4 separate regions of the Homo sapiens genome follow, and all the other regions are linked to region 1. Evidence: promoter capture Hi-C in 16 types of primary human blood cells and fetal thymus (Javierre and others, 2016). All regions are on one chromosome and are shown on one strand. The core of a region is centred on a gene start or on the middle of the fragment in contact, and the rest is flanking DNA. Distances in the headings are between cores, read along the strand shown.

Evidence for each region. Contacts are between HindIII fragments. The CHiCAGO score rates a contact against its expected background, and 5 or more counts as called.
Region 2: a fragment that was not itself captured here is called in contact with the fragment with the promoter of UPF3B in region 1 in 6 of 17 cell types (total B cells, fetal thymus, activated CD4 T cells and 3 more); the score reaches 7.8 in total B cells.
Region 3: a fragment that was not itself captured here is called in contact with the fragment with the promoter of UPF3B in region 1 in 6 of 17 cell types (non-activated CD4 T cells, total CD8 T cells, monocytes and 3 more); the score reaches 10.3 in non-activated CD4 T cells.
Region 4: a fragment that was not itself captured here is called in contact with the fragment with the promoter of UPF3B in region 1 in 1 of 17 cell types (non-activated CD4 T cells); the score reaches 5.4 in non-activated CD4 T cells.

The regions. Positions count from the first base shown.
Region 1 is chrX:119,851,713-119,854,992 of GRCh38, forward strand. UPF3B (UPF3B regulator of nonsense mediated mRNA decay) reads right to left here and starts at 1,251. Exons shown (of 11, transcript NM_080632.3): 1 at 1,061-1,251; 2 at 55-161. The coding sequence starts at 1,216. RefSeq lists an enhancer at 1,226-1,285. The HindIII fragment of the contact is 8,775 bases long and covers 1-3,280 here.
Region 2 is chrX:119,490,883-119,494,162 of GRCh38, forward strand. No RefSeq gene overlaps it. Among named protein-coding and RNA genes, the nearest start is that of SLC25A5-AS1, 23 kb to the left of the region's middle. The HindIII fragment of the contact is 2,254 bases long and covers 576-2,829 here.
Region 3 is chrX:119,511,722-119,515,001 of GRCh38, forward strand. No RefSeq gene overlaps it. Among named protein-coding and RNA genes, the nearest start is that of SLC25A5-AS1, 44 kb to the left of the region's middle. RefSeq lists a silencer at 805-1,099. The HindIII fragment of the contact is 4,998 bases long and covers 1-3,280 here.
Region 4 is chrX:119,552,860-119,556,139 of GRCh38, forward strand. All of the region lies in intron 2 of STEEP1 (STING1 ER exit protein 1), which reads right to left. Among named protein-coding and RNA genes, the nearest start is that of STEEP1, 11 kb to the right of the region's middle. The HindIII fragment of the contact is 1,418 bases long and covers 916-2,333 here.

The DNA of each region.
Region 1 (3,280 bases), core at 1-2,500:
AAGAATGAAAGAAACCTTTTTCATTTACCCCTTTCCTTTTTTTTTTTTTTTTACCTCGTATCATTAGAAAAAAACTCAAAATAATCATGCTCAGGCATAGGTTGAAGATGTTCCTGAAGCTGCTCCTTGGTCAAAGTGGGAGGTAATCTTCGAATTACCACCTTAAGAAATGCATAAGGAAAATAAAATTAGTACAAATCAGTTTTCTGTCATACCTGAAAGAATCACAGTTCCTGAAGAAGGCTGGGCTTTAAAATATGAGATCACTTGTAAAAACCCAGGAGAAAATATTCTTCTGCAGCCCAATGCTCAGAATTAGTCAAACATAATAGTAACGCGGTTTAAAAAAACCCTTGGAAATGAGAACCACCTGGAGCAAGGAAAAATCGCAGGTTTTGCTCTTTACAGCAGCCCTGCAGTTTACCAGGTTTGTGCATCATTTTCGATCACCCATTTTTTAACAGATCTAGTGGCAATAACTTAGTAAGCCAACGCTGGTCTTTGTGGGTGCCACGAAATCTTGATTTAGCAACAAGTTTCTCCCACGTCCAACACATCTTAAAACAAAATCCTTGCCCATTGAACTTAAGAATTCAAAACTCTAACGAATACAAAAAATCTACCCATTGCTCTCAAAATAGGATGCTCTCGATCTACCCTCCTGTACCATTAATCACCCTGCACTCTCCCCCAACTCGCCTCCATGAATAATATTCCCATCCCTCATGTCTCCTTCACTATTTAATATTTCTCCCCAATTACACCTTTAGTTCCTCATTCTTTATACCGTCGCTCTTCCCTCCCATTATCATCTCACAGCTCTGACCTAAACCCTTCCCGTTTGGGGAGTCCCCTCTTTTCCTCACCCCCACCCAGGATTTGGCCGGGAGGGGCTCTCCCCATTTCGGGTGAATGGATGAACCAGGATGATGCGACTTCCATTCAGGCGAAGAGATAGAAGGAGAACCTGAGAAAGAAAGGGGGCAGCCCCATTCCCAGCCATCCTCCCCGCGCTGCGGACTCGTCCCGCCCTCTCCCGGGCCAGCGGCCGACCGGGCACCTTGCTCAGCGCTTCTTTCTTCTCCTTGTTGCGATCCTGCTTATCTTCCCCCTTGGAGCTGTCCCCCGAGGTCCCACCACCGCTGCCTGTGGCCCCGGCGGGGGTTAACAGGGTTACTCGCTTCTCCTTAGGCCTGTGCTCCTTCTCTTCCTTCATGGCTACGTCCCCCGCTGAAGCGGCTTGGCCGGAACGGGGTTACCCCGGGCACAAACGGCTCCCGGGAAGCTCCCGTCAAAGCTCCGCCCCCAACAAATGCCCCTTGTGATAAGTCGGGCCCCACGTTCCATTGGGTCCTGCCAAGCTCTCGCGAGACTTGGGCCTTTCCCAGTGCAAAGGTTTTAACACCTGGTTTTTACTTCCCGCCCGCCAAGTTCCTGCGCCACCCAATCCCCTCGCGGCCCAGACTCCCTCGGGGCCCGCCCCTTCGCGCGTCATTAGCAATTCCGCCATCTTGAAGTGACTCTGTCGGGGACTACAAATCCCGGCATACAAAGCAGCTACCCGCTTTTGTTGGGCGTTCAGGGGCCAGAGCTATCTCAGGGTCCCTGTTTGTGAGTAAATCGAATCCTTTCATCTTCAGAGTTTTCCAGGTCGAAAGATAGGTTCTTCACGCTTAGTTTCCATCAGATAAACTCAATGCCGTCCAAATTTTGCCTCACTAGGGGAGCGACTTGTATTTTTTATCATTGAATTCAGAGGCTTTAGCATTTATTTTCCTACAACTAAAAGAAAAAGCCTAACATTTAAAAAACTTTATTTTCCTTATATTGATTAGGATTTACAGATACTTAGTAAATACTACAATATTAGCCGAGTTCAGTGGCGCACGCCTGTAGTCCCAGCTGCTCGGGAAGGTTGAGAAGAGAGGATCTTGAGCCCAGGAATTCGAGGCTGCAGTGAGCCATGATCGCGCCGCTGCACTCCAGCTTGGGCGACAGAGCGAGACCCTGTATATAAAAAAGAAGGATAATAATAAATAAACACAAGATACTGATATTTAAAGGAGTAATATGACTAAAATATACAAGATTTGTTTTCATCACCTTATTTTAGCAAAAGGATCCTTCTCCCCAGGTACTGATGTCCCACAGGGAGGGGAATAAAAATAAAACCCAACTTGATTTAGTTGCGATCACCATCTTCACTTAAAAAGGGCCAATTTTACATTATTTATAATAACTCCAAACTGGAAACAATCCAAATGTGAATCTAACAGTGATTATGTTGAGTGACAGAATCTAGACACAGAGTACATGTTGTACAATTCCATTTATATGAAATTTTAGAAAAATAAAACCACAGTGATAGAAAGCAGATCAGTCGGCCAGGCGTGGTGGCTCACGCCTGTAATCCCAGCACTTTAGGAGGCCAAGGTGGGTGGATCACCTGAGGTCAGGAGTTCGAGACCAGCCTGGCTAACTTGGCGAAACCCTGTCTCTACTAAAAACAAAAAAAATTAGCAGGGCGTGGTGGCACATTCCTGTAATCCCAGCACTTTGAGAGGCCGAGGCCGGCGGATCACCTGAGATCAGGAGTTCGACACCAGCCTGGCCAACTTGGTGAAACCCTGTCTCTACTAAAATACAAAAATTATCTGGGCATGGTGGCAGGCGCCTGTAGTCCCAGCTATTTGGGAGGCTGAGGCAGGAGAGTCACTTGAACCTGGGAGGCGGAGGTTGCAGTGAGCCGAGGTTGTGCCACCGCACTCCAACCTGGGTGACAGAGTGAGACTCCATCTCAAAAAGAGAGAGAGACACAGACACCCATAGAGGACAGAAACCAAATTAAAGATGCAATAGGAGCCCAAGGCAGAAAGCTGCCTAAGGGCCAACTCCCATTTTTGCCGACCTCTAGAATATATTCCCCTGACTCTGCACTTAAATTTTCTCACTCCAATTGTCCAGCCTATTCTTGGATTCCTATTCCTGTGGCTAAAACGGTTTCCCTGTATTTGACATCTGTTACTCTTGCTTTCAGTACCTGGCCGTTCTTATGAGCCTTGTTTATGCATCTGCCTCTGACCTACTGCTTAGCTCTGCACTTGCATGTTGGTAGTGTATGCCTCTGTTTTGGTGTCCTCACTAGCTTTAAACCACCAGCTGTTTGTCAGTTGCCAGAATAAAGTGTCCCAGGGCTCAGTCCTTAGACCTCTTTTCTATGTACACTCACTCCTTTATTAATCTCATTCATTCTTTTGGCTTTTCTGTCTTTGCTGACAAC
Region 2 (3,280 bases), core at 453-2,952, 360 kb before region 1:
ACCCAGAAGCCAGCCCACAAAACCCTCAGCTATCAACTACAAAATGCTCATCCCGGGCATTTGTCCCCCCACCACCCCCAAACTCCCCACCCCAGGGACAGTAAACTGGAAGGCTATTCTTGACATTTCTGATCTCAGAGCCCGGTCTAAGGTTTTCATTTCCATGCTGGGTTTTGTTTTTTTGTTTGTTTGTTTGTTTAGACAGAGTCTTGCTCTGTCACCCAGGCCAGAGTGCAGTGGCGCTATCTCAGCTCACTACAACCTCAACCTCCCGGGTTCAAGCGATTCTCCTGCTCCCAAGTAGCTGGGACTACAGGCACACACAACCATACCCAGCTACATTTTTGTATTTTTAGTAGAGACAGGGTTTTGCCATGTTGGCCAGGCTGGTCTCGAACTCCTGACCTCAAGTGATCTGCCCACCTCAGCTTCCCAAAGTGTTGGGATTACAGGTGTGTGCCACCGCACCTGGCCCATCCTGGTTCTATAAGTTTAACTTCCCCCGTGAGTAGATCTTTTTAGGGCGCTGACAGAGCCAGCAGAGCTGGGCTCATTTCCTGTTTGCCCAGATGCTAAGCTTCCATATAACCCTTGGTTACACAGGCCCTTGGAAGGAAGCCTTGGCCTAAATAGCCCCAAACAAGTGATAATAGAAAAGCCTTTTATATTTAGCTTTTGGATATTGTAAGTGATTTTTGGCAGCATATTTCTCTTCCTAAATAGAGCTGGATTGGGCTAATTAAAATTAACTTTATGGGATGCAGAATAGGAGAGTGGTTAAGAGCCTTTATAGACCAGTGGTATGGGCGCTCAGCCACACAGTCTGGTTTTCAGTCCAATCACCACCATTTGCTAGCTGTTTATCTCCCTGAGTTTCTTCATCTGCAAAACACAGATATAGCCAGAATACCTTTCTCATTGGGTATCTGTGAGGATTGCATGAAGACTAATACATATAACACAGCCTGATGTCTGGCCCCTGGAAGCATTCAATAAAGGGTGGCAGTCATAGTTATCATGACATTATTTCCCTAGTAGACCCACTGGGCTTTGGATAAAGGAAGTCTAAAGGTAGCCTGGGGGAGGGGTATATGAGGGAAAATCAGGCCAGGATTAAAAACTGTCAGCATAGGCCCGGCACGGTAGCTCTCATCTGTAATCGTACCACTTTGGGAGGCAGAGGCAGGTGGATCAGTTGAGGTCAGCAGTTTGAGACTAGCCTGGCCAACATGGCAAAACCCTGTCTCTACTAAAAAATACACAAATTAGCCAAATGTTGTGGCAGGTGCCTGTAGTCCCAGCTACTTGGGAGGCTGAGGCAGAAGAATTGTTTGAACCCGGGAGGCAAAGGTTGCCGTGAGCCAAGATCGTGCCTGGGTGACAGAGTGAGACTCTGTCTCGCAATAAATAAATAAATACATACATAATAATAATAAATTGTCAGCCTATAATCCAGAAAAAAACAATCCACCTGTGGATAATCGAGTTATCCACTTCTTATTCTTTTTTTTTTTTTTTTTGAAACAGGGTCTCACTGTTGCCCAGGCTAGAGTGCAGTGGTGTGATCAGAGCTCACTGCGGTGTTGAACTCCTGGCCTCAAGTGATCCTCCTGCCTCAGTTTCCCAAAGTGTTGGGATTACAGGAGTGAGCCACCACTCAACGGCCAGAACGTGATTTCTTGACCCTTTTTCTCAGGATTGTGCTAGCTCCTCAGCAGGTTTAGGCTAGAGTGAGCAGGTGGCATTGCCCCAAGACCAGTTGGATGCAGAGTCTGTCAGGAATCACTTCTCTATGCAAGGGAGTAGGTCTGGCTAGGCACAGGTATGTGCTTGCAAGGTAAATAGTTGTTACTGACACAGTCACCTTTGTCTGTGAGGGGAGGAGGAGGCCAATGCCTATGGAAGGACAAAACTCCTTCAGCCTTAGGCAGGTCTTACCTGCCCCTGCATTCTTGTCAGGTTATATATTGCTCTTGTGATGTGTTTGGAAAAAGACAAGAAAACATACTTTTTTTTTTTTCTTCTAGCCAGGACCTCTGGCTAGAGGTAGAGGGACTTCTTAGACGTCACTATCATGGCTGAAGCCTCAATTCTGTCCTAAGCCAGGAAACCAAATTGGTAAATTTGGTCTTTTTTTTTTTTTGACAGGGTCTCACTCCTGTCTCCCAGGCTGGAGTGCAGTGGCACAATCTCAACTCACTGCAGCCTCGATAGCCCAGGCTCAAGTGATCCTCCCACCTCAGCCCCTCAAGTAGCTGGAATTACAGGCATGAGCTACCACGGCCGGCTAATTTTTGTATTTTTAGTAGAGACAGGGTTTCTCCATGTTGGCCAGGCTGGTCTCGAACTCCTGACCTCAGGCGATCTGCCGGCCTGGGCCTCCAAAGTGCTGGGATTACAGGCGTGAGCCATCATGCCTGGGCTAGTAAATTCAGTCTTTATATCATGGTTCCTCCATTGTTGTCAATAACTCTAGCACTGTGAACATGCTTTTGTGAGCTGATGCTGCTATTTACTTCTCTATTTACACATTTACGTATTTGTGTCTCCCTGATACCACATTTATCTTTTGAATGGGTAATATATTGGTAATATATCCTCGGATACCAAATTGACAAGGTATAAAGGGTTTACAGTAACAAGTTAGTTTCCCTCCCACCCCTGTTCCCTCGCCACCCACAGGTAATCTCCATGACCACATTCTGGTGTTACCTTCCAGAGATAAGCTATGCCTATCCAGGCATCTATTATTTTAGGTGGTAGCATTCTTACTCATATTTGTATCCCAGTGCGTAGAGGAGTGCCAAACAAAAGTATGCTGTCAAAAAAAGCTTGTTGGTTGCATGTTTGTTGCTCCAGATTTGTTGCCCTCATCCCAGCCATGGGTGCCTGAACTCTCTAGTTGAAATTTTCATGAGCTTATCAAAATTTTACCTGGGGCCAAGCGCGGTGGCTCATGCCTCTAATCCCAGCACTTTGGGAGGCCGAGGCAGGCGGATCACGAGGTCAGGAGTTCGAGACTAGCCTGGCCAACATGGTGAAACCTCGTCTCTACTAAAATTACAAAAAAAATTAGCTGGGCGTTGTGGCGGGTGCCTGTAATCCCAGCTACTTGAGAGGCTGAGGCAAGGAGAATCGCTTGAAGCTGGGAGGCAGAGGTTACAGTGAGCTGAGATTGCGCCATTGCACTCCAGCCCAGGCAAGAGTGTGAGACTCCGTCTCAAAAAAAAAAAAAAAATTTTTTTTTTTTTTTTTTTACCTGTTTGGACTTGCAGCTCTG
Region 3 (3,280 bases), core at 311-2,810, 340 kb before region 1:
TAATGAGGAGACTGAGGCCTAGAGAAGTTAAGCCACTTGCCTGAGGTCACAGTTAATAAGAAGAAAAATCAAGATTCAAACCCAGGTCTGTCTGATTCTAAATCTTGGGGATGCTATATATATATATAAAAATATATATATTTCTATATATAGAAATATATATATAGAAATATATAGAAATATATATATCTTATTATTTTATTTTATTTTGAGATGGAGTCTTGCTCTGTCACCCAGGCTGGAGTGCAGTGGCATGACCTCTGCTCACTGCAACCTCTGCCTCCCGGGTTCAAGTGATTTTCGTGCCTCAGCCTCCCCAGTAGCTGGAACTACAGGCGTGCATCACCACACACAGCTAATTTTTGTCTTTTTTGGTAGACACGGGGTTCCACCATGTTGCCTAGGCTGGTCTCAAACTCCTGGCCTCAAGTGATCCACCCACTTCGGCCTCCCAAAGTGTGGGGATTACAGGCGTGAGCCACAGTGCCCGGCAATATATGGCTTTTTAAGTCTCCTCCACCCTCAGCCTCCAGAGAGCAGACAGACAGGAACGTTCTGGCCTAGCAGACAGCCGTGTGATATTTTTGGTTCCAGTTATTACCGTGGAGATGGTTGCAGCTTTCTAGGCAGATGGAAGCACGCCAGCTGCCCCATCTACAGACACCGCCCTCCACAAATAGCTTATCAAACCCTGAGGATTGCAATATAATAAAGCAGCTGCCCCTGGGAACTCCCACAGCCCTCCCAGGATACACACCGTTGGCCAGCCCCAACCGCTGGTCCACCCCTGGAAGAAGGACTTCTTGGAAAACCTGTTGTTAGAAGGATTTCCTTCTAGGTAGCTGCTGTGCAGCCAGTAACCAGGGCTGCTCTCAGGGAGGATGGCTCCACCTTTCATTGTGCGGGCCTCCCTGTAGCCAGCTCTGCTCCTGTGGAACCTACTGACCTCTTGTGGGCAGAGTGTAAATGCACTGCAGCTGGACAGCCTCAGAGGGTGCGGGCTTCAGCCAGCTCCTCAGTTTGATTTGTCTCTGACAATGCTGGAGTGTGCTGGTCTCTTGACCTCGCTGCGCCTTGGTTTCCTCACCTATACAATGGGGAATAAACAAATATCCCTGTCCTACTTGAAAACATGAGAAAATACTTTTTTTTTTTTTGAGACAGAGTCTCGCTCTGTTGTCCAGGCTGGAGTGCAGCGGCACGATCTTGGCTCACTGCAACCTCCGCCTCCCAGATTCAAGCAATTCTCCTGCCTCAGCCTCCTGAGTAGCTGGGATTACAGGCACGTGCCACCACGCCTGGCTAATTTTTGTATTTTTAGTAGAGATGGGGTTTCACCATGTTGGTCTGGCTGGTTTCAAACTCCTGACTTCGTGATCCGCCCGCCTCGGCCTGCCAAAGTGCTGGGATTACAGGTGTGAGCCACCGCGCCCGGCCGAGAAAAGGCTTTAATTGGGGGGAAATATATGGGTAAATTCAAGATGCCAAGGTCCCAGGTGGGCACTCACAAAATTGCAGTACCTGACCAGAATGATTAGATATTATCCAACAGTGCTCATTAACCTTTTTAAGTCTGCAGCAGACACAGAAAATGGTATTTGTGTTGCACAAAGAAGGAGGCTTCTTGTGGCCAGAGCTGCCCCAGGCTCAGCCCAGCTACCCCAAAGGCTGAGAGCAGCAACATCTCAGGATTCCTGGAATCTTTTTGCAGCACGTGGGGTTGACAGATGTGACTGTATTATACAAGCAGTTGCAGAAGCAGTGAGCATTGTCAGGATTCTCTTTCTCCTCTTTCCATATAAGTCAGTTAACAAAACGTTTGGGTGGGTGGCCCTACCTCTTAGACACCCACAGAGTCCATAGACACAGGTAGAAACCATCATTGCACAGTTGGGCAAGGGTCTTATATGCCTGGCCCAGGCACAAGGCAGGGTTCCACAGGCTCTGGATCCTTTGTGCTTCTTTTGTAATGCAGAGAAATTAAGAGATCACAGCAGATTGTGTTTTGGGATAATCTGGGTCTGTCAGATACCAAAGAGCCTCCTGTCTCCCGTCAAACCTCGTTTCCTTTTCTCCTGCTGTCTACTTGCACTCCACTGACTCATTCATCCAACAAGCACTTAATAAGTGGCAACCAAGCACCAAACCTTGTGCCAGGTCGTGGGATTACAGGATGAAACTGTTGCCTTCAAGGAACTCAGTCTCATAGAAAGACAGACACAGAAAGAGAGGCACTGGATAGGCTGCAAGAGATCCAGTGGATGTCTGTAAAGAGGAGAGGAAGTGCGAGGGCCTAAGTCAACCTCAGAGAGTCAGGGACACTTGTAAAGACACCTGAAGATTAAATAAGGGGTGGGGGAGGGAAGAGTAACCAGGGAGGAACAAGGCAGCTTTGCAGAGAGAAGAACATATGCAAAGGAGGCCCCAAGACATGACAAAATGAAGCATGTTCAAAGCACTTCAAGTAGCCCAGTTGTGCTAGAATATAAAGTGCTAGATGGGGCGGGGGCGATGGAACCAGACAGGCAAGGGCCACATGAGAGGGGTGCCAATTGAAGGGGTTTTTATTCAATACTTCATCATTTATTAAATAGTTCAGCCACAGGCACGGTGGCTTACGCCTGTAATCCCAGCACTTTGGGAGGCTGAGGTGAGTGGATCGTCTGAGGCCAGGAGTTTGAGAGCAGCCTGGTCAACATGGCGAAACGCCTCTCTACAAATATACAAAAATTAGCCGGGCGTGGTGGTAGGCTCCTGTCGTCCCAGCTACTCTGGTGGCTGAGGCATGTGAATCGCCTGAACCCAGGACACAGAGGTTGCAGTGAGCCAAGATCGCACCACTGCACTCCAGCCTGGGCAACAAAGTGAGACTCCGTCTCAAAAATAAATAGATAAATAAATAAATAAAGGCAACAGGGGGCCACTGGGGCATCTTAAACAGAAGAATGCCATGATCCAAATTACATTTTTTTTTGAGATGGAGTCTTGCTATGTTGCTCAGGTCAGCCTTGGCATCCTGGGCTCAAGATATCCTCCTGCCTCAGCCTCCTGAGTAGCTGGAACTACAGGCACGTGCCACCAAATTACTTTGGTTGTTGGGAAGTAAGTAAGAAGGGAGAGAGATTGTGCTGAGAGAAATCTGTTTTCTGGCTTGAGTAACCAGATACACAGTAGCATTCACTGAATCCGGGAACACAGGGAGGACCCAGTTTGAAGCAGGGAATGAAGACAAGAGCCATTGTGAATACACTGGGTTTGAGATACCTGTAAGACACGAACG
Region 4 (3,280 bases), core at 375-2,874, 300 kb before region 1:
ATTTAAAAGAAACTAAATCTCGGCTGGGTGTGGTGGCTCACACCTGTAATCCCAGCACTTTGGGAGGCTGAGGTGGGCAGATCACCTGAGGTCAGGAGTTCAAGACCAGCCTGGCCAACATGGTGAAACCCTGTCTCTACAAAAATTACCCAGGTATGATGGCGGGTGCCTGTAATCCCAGCTACTCAGGAGGCTGAGGTGGAAGAATTACTTGAACCTGGGAGGCGGAGGTTACAGTGAACGGAGATCGCGCCGTTGCACTCCAGCCTATGTAACAGAGTGAGACTGTCTCAAAAAAAAAAAAAAAGTGGAAAACAGAAACGAAATCTCTGAGGGTAAAGCTGAGGCATTCGCATTAAAACAAACAAACAAACAAAAAACTCCTCCAGATGATTCTGGCACACAGCAAAGGTTGAGAATCACTTTGCTAAGGTGTACATGAAAAGCAGAATTTATAAGGCACACATTATATGCACCTTTAGCTATACTGGATGTTGCCAAAGTACTTTCCAAAGTCATTATAACTATTTGTGGTCTTTCTGGTACTGTAGGAGACTTCCAGTTGCTCTTTGACAACACATGGGTATTATTTTCCCAATTGAAGGATAAGGAAATTGGGGGCCTAAAAGATTACTTGCCCAAAGTCACAAAGTGGTACTGCTTGGGATATAACTATACAGACTGTGCTGACCATCATCTTTAATGTTCTGCCTCTCCATTTACAAGTATTACTTATGTCAAAGGTGCTCCAATTCATTGACATCACTGGACCAGGGCACTAATAATATTTTTGGTTCTATATACCCTCTCTGGTCCCACTGGGACTAAATTCAACCCCATACTGAAGGGAGAGATTCACCATACAGAGAATGAACTTCCCCTAGAATCCTGAAGTCGGCCAATCCCGTAAGTTCAAGCTTTCAAAACACATAGAAATATCAAATAAATGGGGCCGCATATTTCTCAATGAGTTAATCTTCAAGTACCAATGACAAACTGGATTTTGTCAAGTTTATAAAAATGTATCTATTTCTAACTATGTGCCAAGAAGCAGGCAAGATGTCTGTCCTAAGGGTTTCAGAAAAATAAGGCAGGGTTCCTGCTCTCAAAAAGTTCATCTTATTGAAATAGTGAGACTTTAATGTAAATGAGGTAAGAATTTCAAGTGGTATGACTTAAAGAAGTGATTAATATGAGCTAGATGTTTGGGATAATTGACCTTGATTTTCTTTCCTATCCTGAATCTCAAGGAATATATGAGATAGGGAAGACTCTGTGACCAAAAACAAAACAAAACATTCTCGGCCGGGCACGGTGGCTCACGCCTGTAATCCCAGCACTTTGGGAGGCCAAGGCGGGTGGATCATTTGAGGTCAGGAGTTCGAGACCAGCCTGGCCAACACAGTGAAACCCCGTCTCTACTAAAAATACAAAAATTAGCCAGGCATGGTGGTGCATGCCTGTAATCCCAGCTACTCGGGAAGCTGAGGCAGGAGAATCACTTGAACCCAGGAGGTGGAGGTTGCAGTGAGCCAAGATTGCGCCACTGCACTCCAGCCTGGGCAACAGAGTGAGACTTCATCTCAAGAAAAAAAATTCTCCATTCTGGCTGTGGTAGCTAGCCTCTAAGGTGGCCCCCAATGATCCTTGTCCCTGGTACTAACACCCTTGTATAGTCACCTCCCACAATGAATAGCGCTGACTTGTGACACCAAAAGGACATCACAGAAACAACTGTGTGTGCCTTCTGAGTCATAGCCATAAAACACATTGCGGCTTTTGCCTTGCTCTCCTGAATTACTTACATTATGGGAAGCCAGCTGCCATGTCATGAGGATACTCAAGCAGCCTTATGGAAAGATCCCTGTGTTGAGAAACTGAGGCTTCTTGCCAACAGTTAGCACTCAACTGCCTACCATATGAGACACCTTGGAAGATGACTCTCCAGCCCTAATCAAGATTTCAGGCCAGGCACGGTGGCTCACACCTGTAATCCCAGCATTTTGGGAGGACAAGGCAGGGGGATTGCTTGAGCCTAGGAGTTCAAGAACAGCCTGGGCAACATAGGAAGACCCTGTCTTTACAAAAAAAAATTAAAAATTAGCCAGGCATGGTGGCACATGCCTATGGTCCCAGCTACTCAGGAGGCTGAGGTGGGAGGATCACTTGAGCCCAGGAGATCGAGACTGCAGTGAGCTGTGATTGTGCCACTGCACTCTAGCCTGCGTGACAGAGTGAGACCCTGCCTCAAAAAAAAAAAAAGACTTCAGATGACTGTTTACATAGTCATCTTCTTAATCGCAGCTTCATGAGAGACCAGAATCACCTAGCTAAGCTTGCTCTTGAATTCCTGACCCACAGAAAATACATAAAATGATAAATGTTTGTTCTTTAAAAAAAAAAAAATCAAGAGAGTACCAGAAGATGAAGATGGACAGATCATAGAGCGCATTCAGGCTTATATTTTTATCCAGCCAACTAGGAGTGTTTTCCTTGTACTCCACAATGATCCCTAAATGAAATCAGATGGGGAGGAAGGAGGAGTCCTTAATGGATTGGGCTAGACTCCTCCCCACTCAGAGCAGCTTTCTGCTTATCAGTCTTATTTATACTTCTGGGTAAGAATTTAATTAAAGAAAGGATTTTTCATCTAAAAATGTTTCAAAGGCATTGCTATAAGTGATGAAGGGTCACTAACAGATTTGAAGCAGGTGACTGACATAATGTGTATTTCAGATAATTCAAGCAGTAGAGGATAGACTGGAGGAGAGCAAAACTAGAGACCAAAAGACCAGGTAAGAGGCCACTTCAGTAGTCTAAGTAAGTGATTTTGGGTACTGAAATAACGGCAGTGCAGCAGGGCTGAACAGGAGGCAGCAGCCACAAAAGAGATTAGAAGGCAGAATCGACAGTACATGGTGAGTGACTAGATGTATGCAGGGGATGATGGTGGGATGGTGGGGACAGATGAGACAAAGAGAGACTGACTCCTAGATTTCTGGCTGGGGCCACTGCATGAATCCTGGTGTCATCATAAGAAGAAGGAAAAGAAGGACTAGCATTTGGCTAATAGTAATAGAGACCTGACTGCAATGGCTTCAACAAAAGAGCTTGTTCTCTCATGTAACATCAGGAGGAAGGCAGTTCTGAGCACTGGTTGAGACCCAAGGATAGCAGGGCAAAGGCTCTGCAATTCTTGTGGCCTCTCCTTCCCAGTTCCAGGCTGGCTGCTAGTGTTCCAATTATCATGTCCATTTCCCAAGAAGCAGGATGGAATAAG